Linked DNA regions of Homo sapiens: region 1 is linked to region 2. The links are contacts of gene promoters, found by promoter capture Hi-C in human tissues and cell types (Jung and others, 2019). All regions are on one chromosome and are shown on one strand. Each heading gives the region's core, a stretch centred on a gene start or on the middle of the fragment in contact. The rest is flanking DNA. Distances are from core to core; before and after follow the strand shown.

Region 1 (4,541 bases), core at 373-2,872, 600 kb before region 2:
GCCTAGTTGTTGATTCCAAAAGCAAAGTCATCATGTCATTGCTTTCTCTCTCTCTCTCTCTCTCACACACACACACACACACACACACTTCTGTGTTTACGCACACTCTCCCTGCCTCTCACCACATCCCAACAGACACATCCTTCTCCACCAAACAGCCCTCCCCACCACACCTCTTCCTCTCCTGGACAGGAGGGATATTCCGGGTTCTTGCTTTAAGGCTGAAGTAACAGTGGTGGGAGTGGGGACTGAACCCCAGATTGAGGAGGGGTCAGGGATCCCTATCAGACAGAGAGACTGGAACTGATAGAGGATGCTACCGTTTCTCTTTTTGTTTTTAAAAATCTTTTTCCACATGTTCTAAGATACTCAGTTTTTCTTCCTTTTTTTTTTTTTTTTTTTTTTTCTTGAGACGGAGTCTCGCTCTGTCGCCCAGGCTGGAGTGCAGTGGCGCCATCTCGGCTCACTGCAAGCTCCGCCTCCCGGGTTCACACCATTCTCCTGCCTCAGCCTCCTGAGTAGCTGAGACTACAGGCGCCCGCCACCACGCCCGGCTAATTTTTTGATTTTTAGTAGAGATGGGCTTTCACTGTGTTAGCCAGGACGGTCTTGATCTCCTAACATCGTGATCCACCCGCCTCGGCCTCCCAAAGTGCTGGGATTACAGGCGTGAGCCGCTGCACCCGGCCTTTTCTTTCTTTTTTTTAAAAAAAGTCATTTTCTGCAACAAAACCCACATTCTTTTTTTGTGTTTTTTTTTTTTAAGGCAGGGTCTTGCTCTGTCACCCAAGGTAGAGTGCAGTAGCTCAATCACAGCTCACTGCAGCCTCGACCTGCCTGACTCGAGGGATCCTTCCACCTCTGCCTCTGCAGTAGCTGGGACCACAGGTGCACACCACCACACCGAGCTAACTTAAGAAAAATTTTTTTTGGTAGAGATGGTGTCTCCCTATGCTGCCTAGGCTGGTCTGGAATTCCTGGGCTCAAGCAATCCTCCCACCCAACCTCCCAAAGTGCTGGGATTACAGGCTGAGCCACTGCCCCCAGCCAGTTACTCAGTTTTTCTAAAACTTGGGTGCCTGGGGGAGGCTGACACCCTTCCCACTCCTCTGAAAGGCAGTTTCCTAAGGGAAGGGTCTTCTGCTGCTCACCACCCTTAACAGCCCTGTGTCCCCAGTGCTCAGCCCCTGAGGAAGGGAAGGCGTGCTGACAGGGTCCATGTGATCCATGTCCAGTGGCTCTGGTGACAGCAGTCTGAAGTCAACTGGCTGTGAGAACTCGAGTAAGGCCAGTCCCGATCTGGTCCTCAGTGATGGAGAAAAGCCCCTCTTAACCTCCAATTCAATGATCCTAAAAGAGCAGGTGCTTCGGGGGTGCTGAAACTGCGCTTTTGGAGGGGGCTTTTGGGAAGGCCGGGCTGGGGACTCAGGTCTGGAGGGTGACAGAGCCGACCTCCCGTAAACCAGGGAGGAGGAAGGTGGGGGCGGGTGGGCCTAGGATCTGGGGGCGCCTCCTCGCTGCGGGGAGCTGGCTTGGGGCTAGGGCGTGACTGTCTCCCTGCCACCATCACCGCCCGCCGGCCGTGACTGCAATAAGAGAAGTCCGAGGCGGCTTCCTCCTCCCTGCCCAGCAGGGGCGGCGGTCAGAGGCGGGCAGCACCCCAGTTCTCCCCGCACGCCGGCACTCGCGGCTGCTGGAGCCCCGGCTGGCTCACCCCGGGGCCGGGCAGAATTGGGCTCCAGGTAAGCGACAGCGTCGGGTGGGGACTGGGCAGGTCAAGCAGTGCCCTCCCCCTCGAGGCTCTGGAGAGAGGACTGGGGGTACACGGGAAGAGAAGCCTGAACCTGGGGGTCGGGGGACACATGAGCAAGGTGACAGCCAAAGGGACCCCAGCCCGAAAAGGCCTAAGGAGGAAAACGGGCGACCTGAAAAGCAAGGCTGATAAACCTGGAGGAGAGGGCGGAGGGGAGCACGGGGGAAGCCGACCAAAGGGACCCCCAAAAAGGTCTAGTGGGTAAAATGGAGGGGACTGATAAGAGTTTAGGAAGGGGGCTGAGGTGGGGGAGAAGGATTAAGGGGAATCCCCAGGACGGTCTGGGGGAGAAACTGAAGGGATCGTGAGAGTGGGACTTTGGGGAGAAGCCGACGGGTCTGATGGGTCCAGGAGAGGGGAAATGGGTGGGGGTGCTGGAGGGAACAGGAGAGGGAGCTGGCGGGAAGGGGGTTGAGGAGAACGACTTCTGGAGGACGGAGAACCTGGGGTGCAATTGCGGGTCCAGGAAGTTCCCCTCTTCCGAGCCGGCCGAAGTCGGGGTGAAGCCCACAGCCCGCAGGGTAACGTTAGCGGCCGCGACCGCGGCCCCGCGACCCTCTCGGCCCGCCCTTGCGGTAGGTTCCGGGCTGCAGGGGACTCCTGCCGGGCGCGCGAGGCGTGGGTCCCCGCTTCCTGGGGAAGTCCCCGCCCTCGGCAGGGACAGGCCTCTCCGGGCGCCCCCTCCGCGCCCGCGGCGGTCTCGGCCCGCGCTCCCCGCTGGATCCGGGAATTGCTGCCGCCCCGACGGAAATCCTGCCTTTGACCGCGAGTGCCCGCAGGGGCTGCCTCCAAGGCAACGAGAGGGCGGGCCGCGCTGGGCCGCCGCGGGGCTCCGGGTGGGCGCAGCCCCCTTTGCTCTCCGCCTTCGCCCCCTTTTGGAATCCTCGGTCTGGTGGGTGGGGGGTGGGCTTCCCGACCGAGGTAGGAGGCGATGCCGCTGTGTTCAGGGATCCTGGGGTGGAGGATCTGCTGTTTGAGAGACCTGGGTTCTTAGCAAGACTGGGCCCTTAATTGCTGTGTGACTGTGGGCAAGTTACAGGGCTTCTCTGGGCCTCACTTTCCTCATCTGAACTATGGTGAGAAATGATCCTTGTGTCCACTCTTCCCCCACGAGAATCAGGTGCAGAAAGCAGTTTTTGCTGAGTGTCCTGAAGGGTTAAGGGCTATCCCTGACTCAGCGAGCCTCCCCTTCACCTTCTCAAAAACATGCAGAGGAGGCCAGCCTGGGCAGCACAGGGAGACCCCCGTCCTGTCTCTACAAAAAAATATAGTTAGCCAGAAGGCTGGAAGTGGTGGCACCTGCTGTAGTCCCAGCTACTCCAGAGGCTGAGGCCGGAGGATCGCTGGAGCCCACGAGTTCAAGGCTGCAGTGAGAGCTCCTGGATGAGAGAGTGAGATTTTGTCTGTAAACAACAACAACAACAAAAAGCATGGAGGGGGACCAGACTGCCCGGCTCTCACTGACAGGGCCTCCAGGGACCAGCACACAGTTGGCGTCTAAATAGTTTATGGCTCTGATGAGAGCCCATACTGGGGAGGTCAGCAGAGTTAAAATCTGTCTCACACCCTCTCTGGTGCTGCATCCAGTTGGCCGCCCCTCGGGTGTGTACTCTCAGGGGCCCTGATGTCCTTGGCATCCTTCCGACTGTGGTGATGATGGGAGAGCAGGACCCTGTTCCCACTTCACAGATGGGAAGATGGAGGTTTGGGAGTTGGCAACCTGCAGGGCCAACAGTAGGGACCAGAATTCCAGGACATCTCGTCTCTGATGTAGCCTGAGCTGAGGCCTGAATCCTTACCTCATCCCTACCAAGTTTCATGTACCCTCCGGGGAGGAGGGTGTGGGGTTTAGGGGCTTCATGACTACTTCCTGTTCCAGTGAGTAGGTGCTCTCACACCCTCCTCCAGTGAGGGTGTGAGTGTTTGTATGTTTTGGGCTCTGAGTGAATGAGCATGAACCCTTGAGCATATGAGTGGATGTTTGGGTGATCTCTGCAGCCACCTGGGGCTGATGTGGCAAAGGAAGTGGCCAGACCTCAGGAGGCTGGGTAGGGAACCCCAGAGCTGGGGAAGTAGGGGCCAGGGCTCTTCCCACGCAGAGCAGACTGGGCTGACCTAAGGTGGGAAAAGGCAGGATGTCCCCCTCACCGCCCCACTCCCCTGAGGGACCAGGGAGGGGGCTTCCTGTCTGGCCACACTGTGAAATCTAGACTCCCATCCCTTGGCTGCCCCTGGACCCCCGCCCCCCGCCGCCATGGCTTCCATCTCCTGAAAATCCTGAGTCCCAGGCCAGATGGCATCTAAAGAGCTGTGTTTTAGAGGCTGGTGGGTGGTTTTCAGCAACAGGTGGAAAACCACTTTTACCCACAAGAAGTGGAAAAAACTGCTAATGGCCTCGGGACCACATGGAGGGTAAAGGCCACCCCCGATCCTGCACACACCTGGCCTCACCACGGTGGTGGTGGAGTCAGACAGGGTTGGGTGGGTATGTCTTCTTCAGGAGGCAGTTTCGAGGCCTCAAGAAAGGATGGTGTGAGATGAAAGGGGGTTAATGAAGGCAGGGCACGGTGGCTCACGCCTGTAATCCCAGCACTTTAGGAGGCCGAGGTGGGTGGATCACCTGAGGTCAGAAGTTCAAGAACAGCCTGGCCAACATGACTAAACCCCATCTCTACTAAAAATACAAAAATTTAGCTGGGCATGGTGGCAGACGCCTGTAATCCCAGCT
Region 2 (3,990 bases), core at 1,005-3,504:
CATGGAAGCTGCTAATATCTTTATTTTATTAAACATTTATGGCTGGGCACCGTGGCTCACGCCTGTAATCCCAGCGCTCTGGGAGGCCGAGGCAGGCAGATCACCTGCAGTTGGGAGTTGGAGACCACCCTGACCAACATGGAGAAACCCCGTCTCTACTAAAAATACAAAATTAGCCAGGCATGGTGATGCACGCCTGTAATCCCAGCTACTCGGGAGGCTGAGGCAGGAGAATTGCTTGAACCTGGGACGCAGAGGTTGTAGTGAGCCAAGATCACACCATTGCACTCCAGCCTGGGAGACAGAGAGAGACTCCATCTCAAAAAAATAAATAAATAAATAAATAAATAAATAATTTATATAATAGTCACTTTGTGCCAGGCATTGCTCTGACACTTTACAAATTTCAACTCACTGATTTAAACCTCCTGAGATAGGTACTACTATTGCTCCCATTTTACAGATTAAAAAAACTGAAGCAGAGTTAAGTAGCTTACCCAAGATGACACAACTAGTTAGTGACAGAGCTGGGATGTAACAAGGGAGTCTGAGCTCTTAATCTTGGTGCTCTTTGGCCCTAAGTGCTTCACCCTGTTCTAAAAACCTTCCCTGCCCGCCCTGGCCAGGCTGAAGAAGACTCTGCTCTTTTTGTCTGTCATTTGGAAAAGGGCCTCCAGAAGTCAGTCCCTTGTCTTGGGATAGAAATGCCCCCACTGACCTTGTCCAGGGCCTCCCATCCCCCCCAGTCAGGAAGTCCTTCCTGTTGTCTGACTTGAATCTGGGCTGAGGCAGCAGTTCCCAGGGAAGAACCTCTTCAGCTGGGATACCTGGTGGGAGGGGCCTCAGGAGATATGGTGGAGGAGGGAGGGGGCTCAACCCTGAACTCTCAGAGAGTGGAATTTGGGGGGCAGGTTCTGGGCATCTGAGTGGTGGCAGAGCTCTGGGGCAGGAAACCCTGTTAGCTCCTCTCCAAAGGGATCTTGCTTTCCCCACCCCTCCATAACTGCACCAGCGACTTCTCAAACTACCTCCCAAGCTCAGATAAAAGCAGGAACGAAGGAAGTGACAGCATTGGACAGGCCAAGCCTGCTGCAAGACATCTGGATATCACTGTCACCATCAGACACCACATTGGCAACTGCTACCAAAGACCACTTTTCTTTCCTTTTTTTTTTTTTTTTGAGACAGAGTCTCCCTCTGTCACCCAGGCTGGAGTGCAGTGGCGCGATCTCAGCTCACTGCAACCTCAGCCTCCCGGGTTCAAGCAATTCTCCTGCCTCAGCCTCCCAAGTAGCTGGGATTACAGGCATGCGCCACCACGCCCGGCTAATTTTTTTTTTTTTTTTTTGTATTTTCAGTAGAGACAGGGTTTCACCATATTGGCTGGGCTGGCAAAAGCCTCCTTTCTAAGTGAATTCTTACCCTCCTGTCTTGGCATCACTCACTCCAAGCCCTGGGCTACGCCCCTTGGCCGCCCCAGGTTATGTGCCCATGTCCTCTCTGCCAGGGAGTAGGAAGAGGGGTCTGTGGTCCCCTCCAGCTTCTATAGTGGGCAATAGGGCCCAGATGTCCATCAAGACTCATGTAGTGGGGGCTCCTCCCCAAAGAGAAAGGGGCTTTGAATGTAATGGGAAGACAGGAAGGGCTGTCCTTTGATAAGAGGAGGAGTTCGTCCTCAGGAGTGAGGGAGGAAGGAGGAAATGGGCACAAGGCAGACAGAAAACAATGAAAGTCCTGCTCAGAGAGGAAGCCCGGGGGCCGGGATACACATAGAAGCTGGAGGAAATGCTGCCCTCTGTACCAAAAGCAAATCAAAGTTGGAGGCGCCCGGACCTCTCAACCCCAGGAGGCTCAAAGCCCCTTGAGCTCACCCAGCAACCTCTGCTGCCCCCCACCACAGGGGCACCTGCAGAGCACTAGCCCCTCTTTCATACTCTGGCCCAAATGTTGGGGGGAAGCTTGGCCCATTCCCTTTAGAGCCCGGTGGAGAGAAGAAACCAGGCTTGGACCTGCAAACAAGATGTTAGCAATGGCCCAGGGACAACAAAGGGGAAATAAACACAGACATGTACTATATATTCCATGTGCATTTATCTGGTACCAGCCAGATTCCAGGTACCACAGACAATGAGCACGCTGCCCTCATGGAGCTTACACTCTAGTGGGGAAGACCCTGAAACAAGTCACACTGCAGTAAACAAGGTGACCCATCAGTGCTGGGCTGACCACAACAAAGGTGAAAACATGGAGAGTAACTGGGGAGCCCCCTTTAGAGGGAAAGGTCAGGGAAGGGCTCTTTGGGCCAAGACTGGGACGATGAGTAACCAGACACGCAGAGACTGGGAGGCAACTGTGGGCTCCAAGTCCCTGAGGTAGGAACAAGCTTGTTGTGCTTGTAGAACAGAAAAGGGGCCAATCGAAGCTGAAACACAAGGAGCCGGGGGTGGAAGGGGGAGATGAGGCTAAAGTCATCCCGTAAAGAATCAGCATTTTATTCCAGCCAATGGGAAGTCACTAAGGACTGTCCTTTAGGCCTGGCGTGGTAGCTCACGCCTGTAATCCCAGCACTTTGGGAGGCAGAGGCGGGAGGATCACTTGAGGTCAGGAGTTCGAGACTAGCCTGGCCAACATGGTGAAACCCCATCTTTACTAAAAATACAAAAAGATTAGCTGGGCGTGGTGGTGCACACCTGTAATCCCAGCTACTCAGAAGGCTGAGGCAGGAGAATTGCTCGAACTTGGGAGGCAGAAGTTGCAGTGAGCTGAGATCGCGTCACTGCACTCCGGTCTGAGCTAGAGAGCAAGACTCCGTCTCAAAAAAAAAAAAAAAAAAAAAAAGACTGTCCTTTGATAAGAGGAGGGACCCAACCTCAGATGTGAGTCAGGAAGGAGAAGAAGAAGGGCACGGTGCAGGTAGGAATACAGATTACACCATGGAAAGGTGAGCGCGTCCCACAGCTGGGCTCCTGTCTCCTCAATGCAGCATGAGGCCAGGTCATCACTGCACAGTGGAGGAAGGGGAGAGTGGCAGGAGATGTGTTCATTAGGTCACATCAGGTTTCCAGTTTCCTGCATAGAGCCACAACACAGCCCTGAGGACCCTGGGCCCTAATTGGCCCTCATACCCCTGGGCACCTGGCCGTGTCCCTTGAGTGACAGAGGCATTTACTTCACTGGCCTCTTCTCCCCGTCACTGAAAACACACCAGTAACTGAAGCTTCAACCATCACAATCACAATGTCAACTATAGCCACAATCATAATCACAGTCACACCAACAGGCACAAGGGCAGGACAGGAAGTCCTCAAGGGTACCCTAACTTGGCAAGCCAGCAGGACCCCAGCCCCTTTCTGGGCCCCGTGGAAGGCAACGGGACTGTCCTGGAACAGGTACGGGGGGTGCTGGAGCCAATTCTGCACATCTCTTCACAACTTCACGTGTAGTGGCGTCATGTGGGTAGCCTGAAATTGACCATGGTGGAGGGCTTTTGGTTATTCTTTCCAGCTAGCCAGTTTACCAGAATCCATACCTCTGGACAGAGCCCTGAGGACAGTTAGAGAAGCTGTGCCCTCCCCGCCCCCACAAGTCCAGCTGCCACTAGAAAGAGCTGGTTGTGGTACCACTTTCTTGTGTAAGCACCAGGACCTTAAGTAGGAACAGTGGAAGGAGATGGCCAGTCATGTTCACAGAGTCCTGGTGGCTGAGCTGTAAGGTGGGGAATGTGGGTCGAGATGGGGAGTTCATCTGCCCTGAAAACCCACCCAGTGGTGAGTCAGAGACCCTGGGCCTCAGCTCGGGGACATCACCTTCACTCAGAGCCTCTGCTCTAGCCCAAGAGCCTAAGACCTGTGGGCTCCAAGACGCCTGCCTAACTCACCCTACTAGAACAAGAATCCTGGGCTGGTTCTGTCCTGGGAGAAGCTAAGAGCTGCTTCTCCCTGTTCCCTGATCCCAGGATGGGCCCTGACCTTGGTCATAAACTGAGCCTGT

The links. The method cuts DNA at HindIII sites, captures the fragments that hold promoters and counts their contacts. A contact is called where the count stands out against the background at its distance.
Region 1: a contact is called between the fragment with the promoter of FGR here and a fragment that was not itself captured in region 2, in 1 of the 25 tissues and cell types used here (psoas muscle).

Annotation. Positions count from the first base shown.
Region 1 is chr1:27,632,266-27,636,806 of GRCh38, reverse strand. It overlaps FGR (FGR proto-oncogene, Src family tyrosine kinase), which reads left to right and starts at 1,622. Exons shown (of 13, transcript NM_005248.3): 1 at 1,622-1,742. RefSeq lists a silencer at 2,497-2,546 and enhancers at 4,127-4,176, 4,405-4,541. The HindIII fragment of the contact is 29,896 bases long and covers 1-4,541 here.
Region 2 is chr1:27,033,687-27,037,676 of GRCh38, reverse strand. The region is part of intron 2 of LOC101928391 (a long non-coding RNA gene); the gene reads right to left. Among named protein-coding and RNA genes, the nearest start is that of TENT5B, 23 kb to the right of the region's middle. RefSeq lists an enhancer at 2,270-2,771. The HindIII fragment of the contact is 4,027 bases long and covers 241-3,990 here.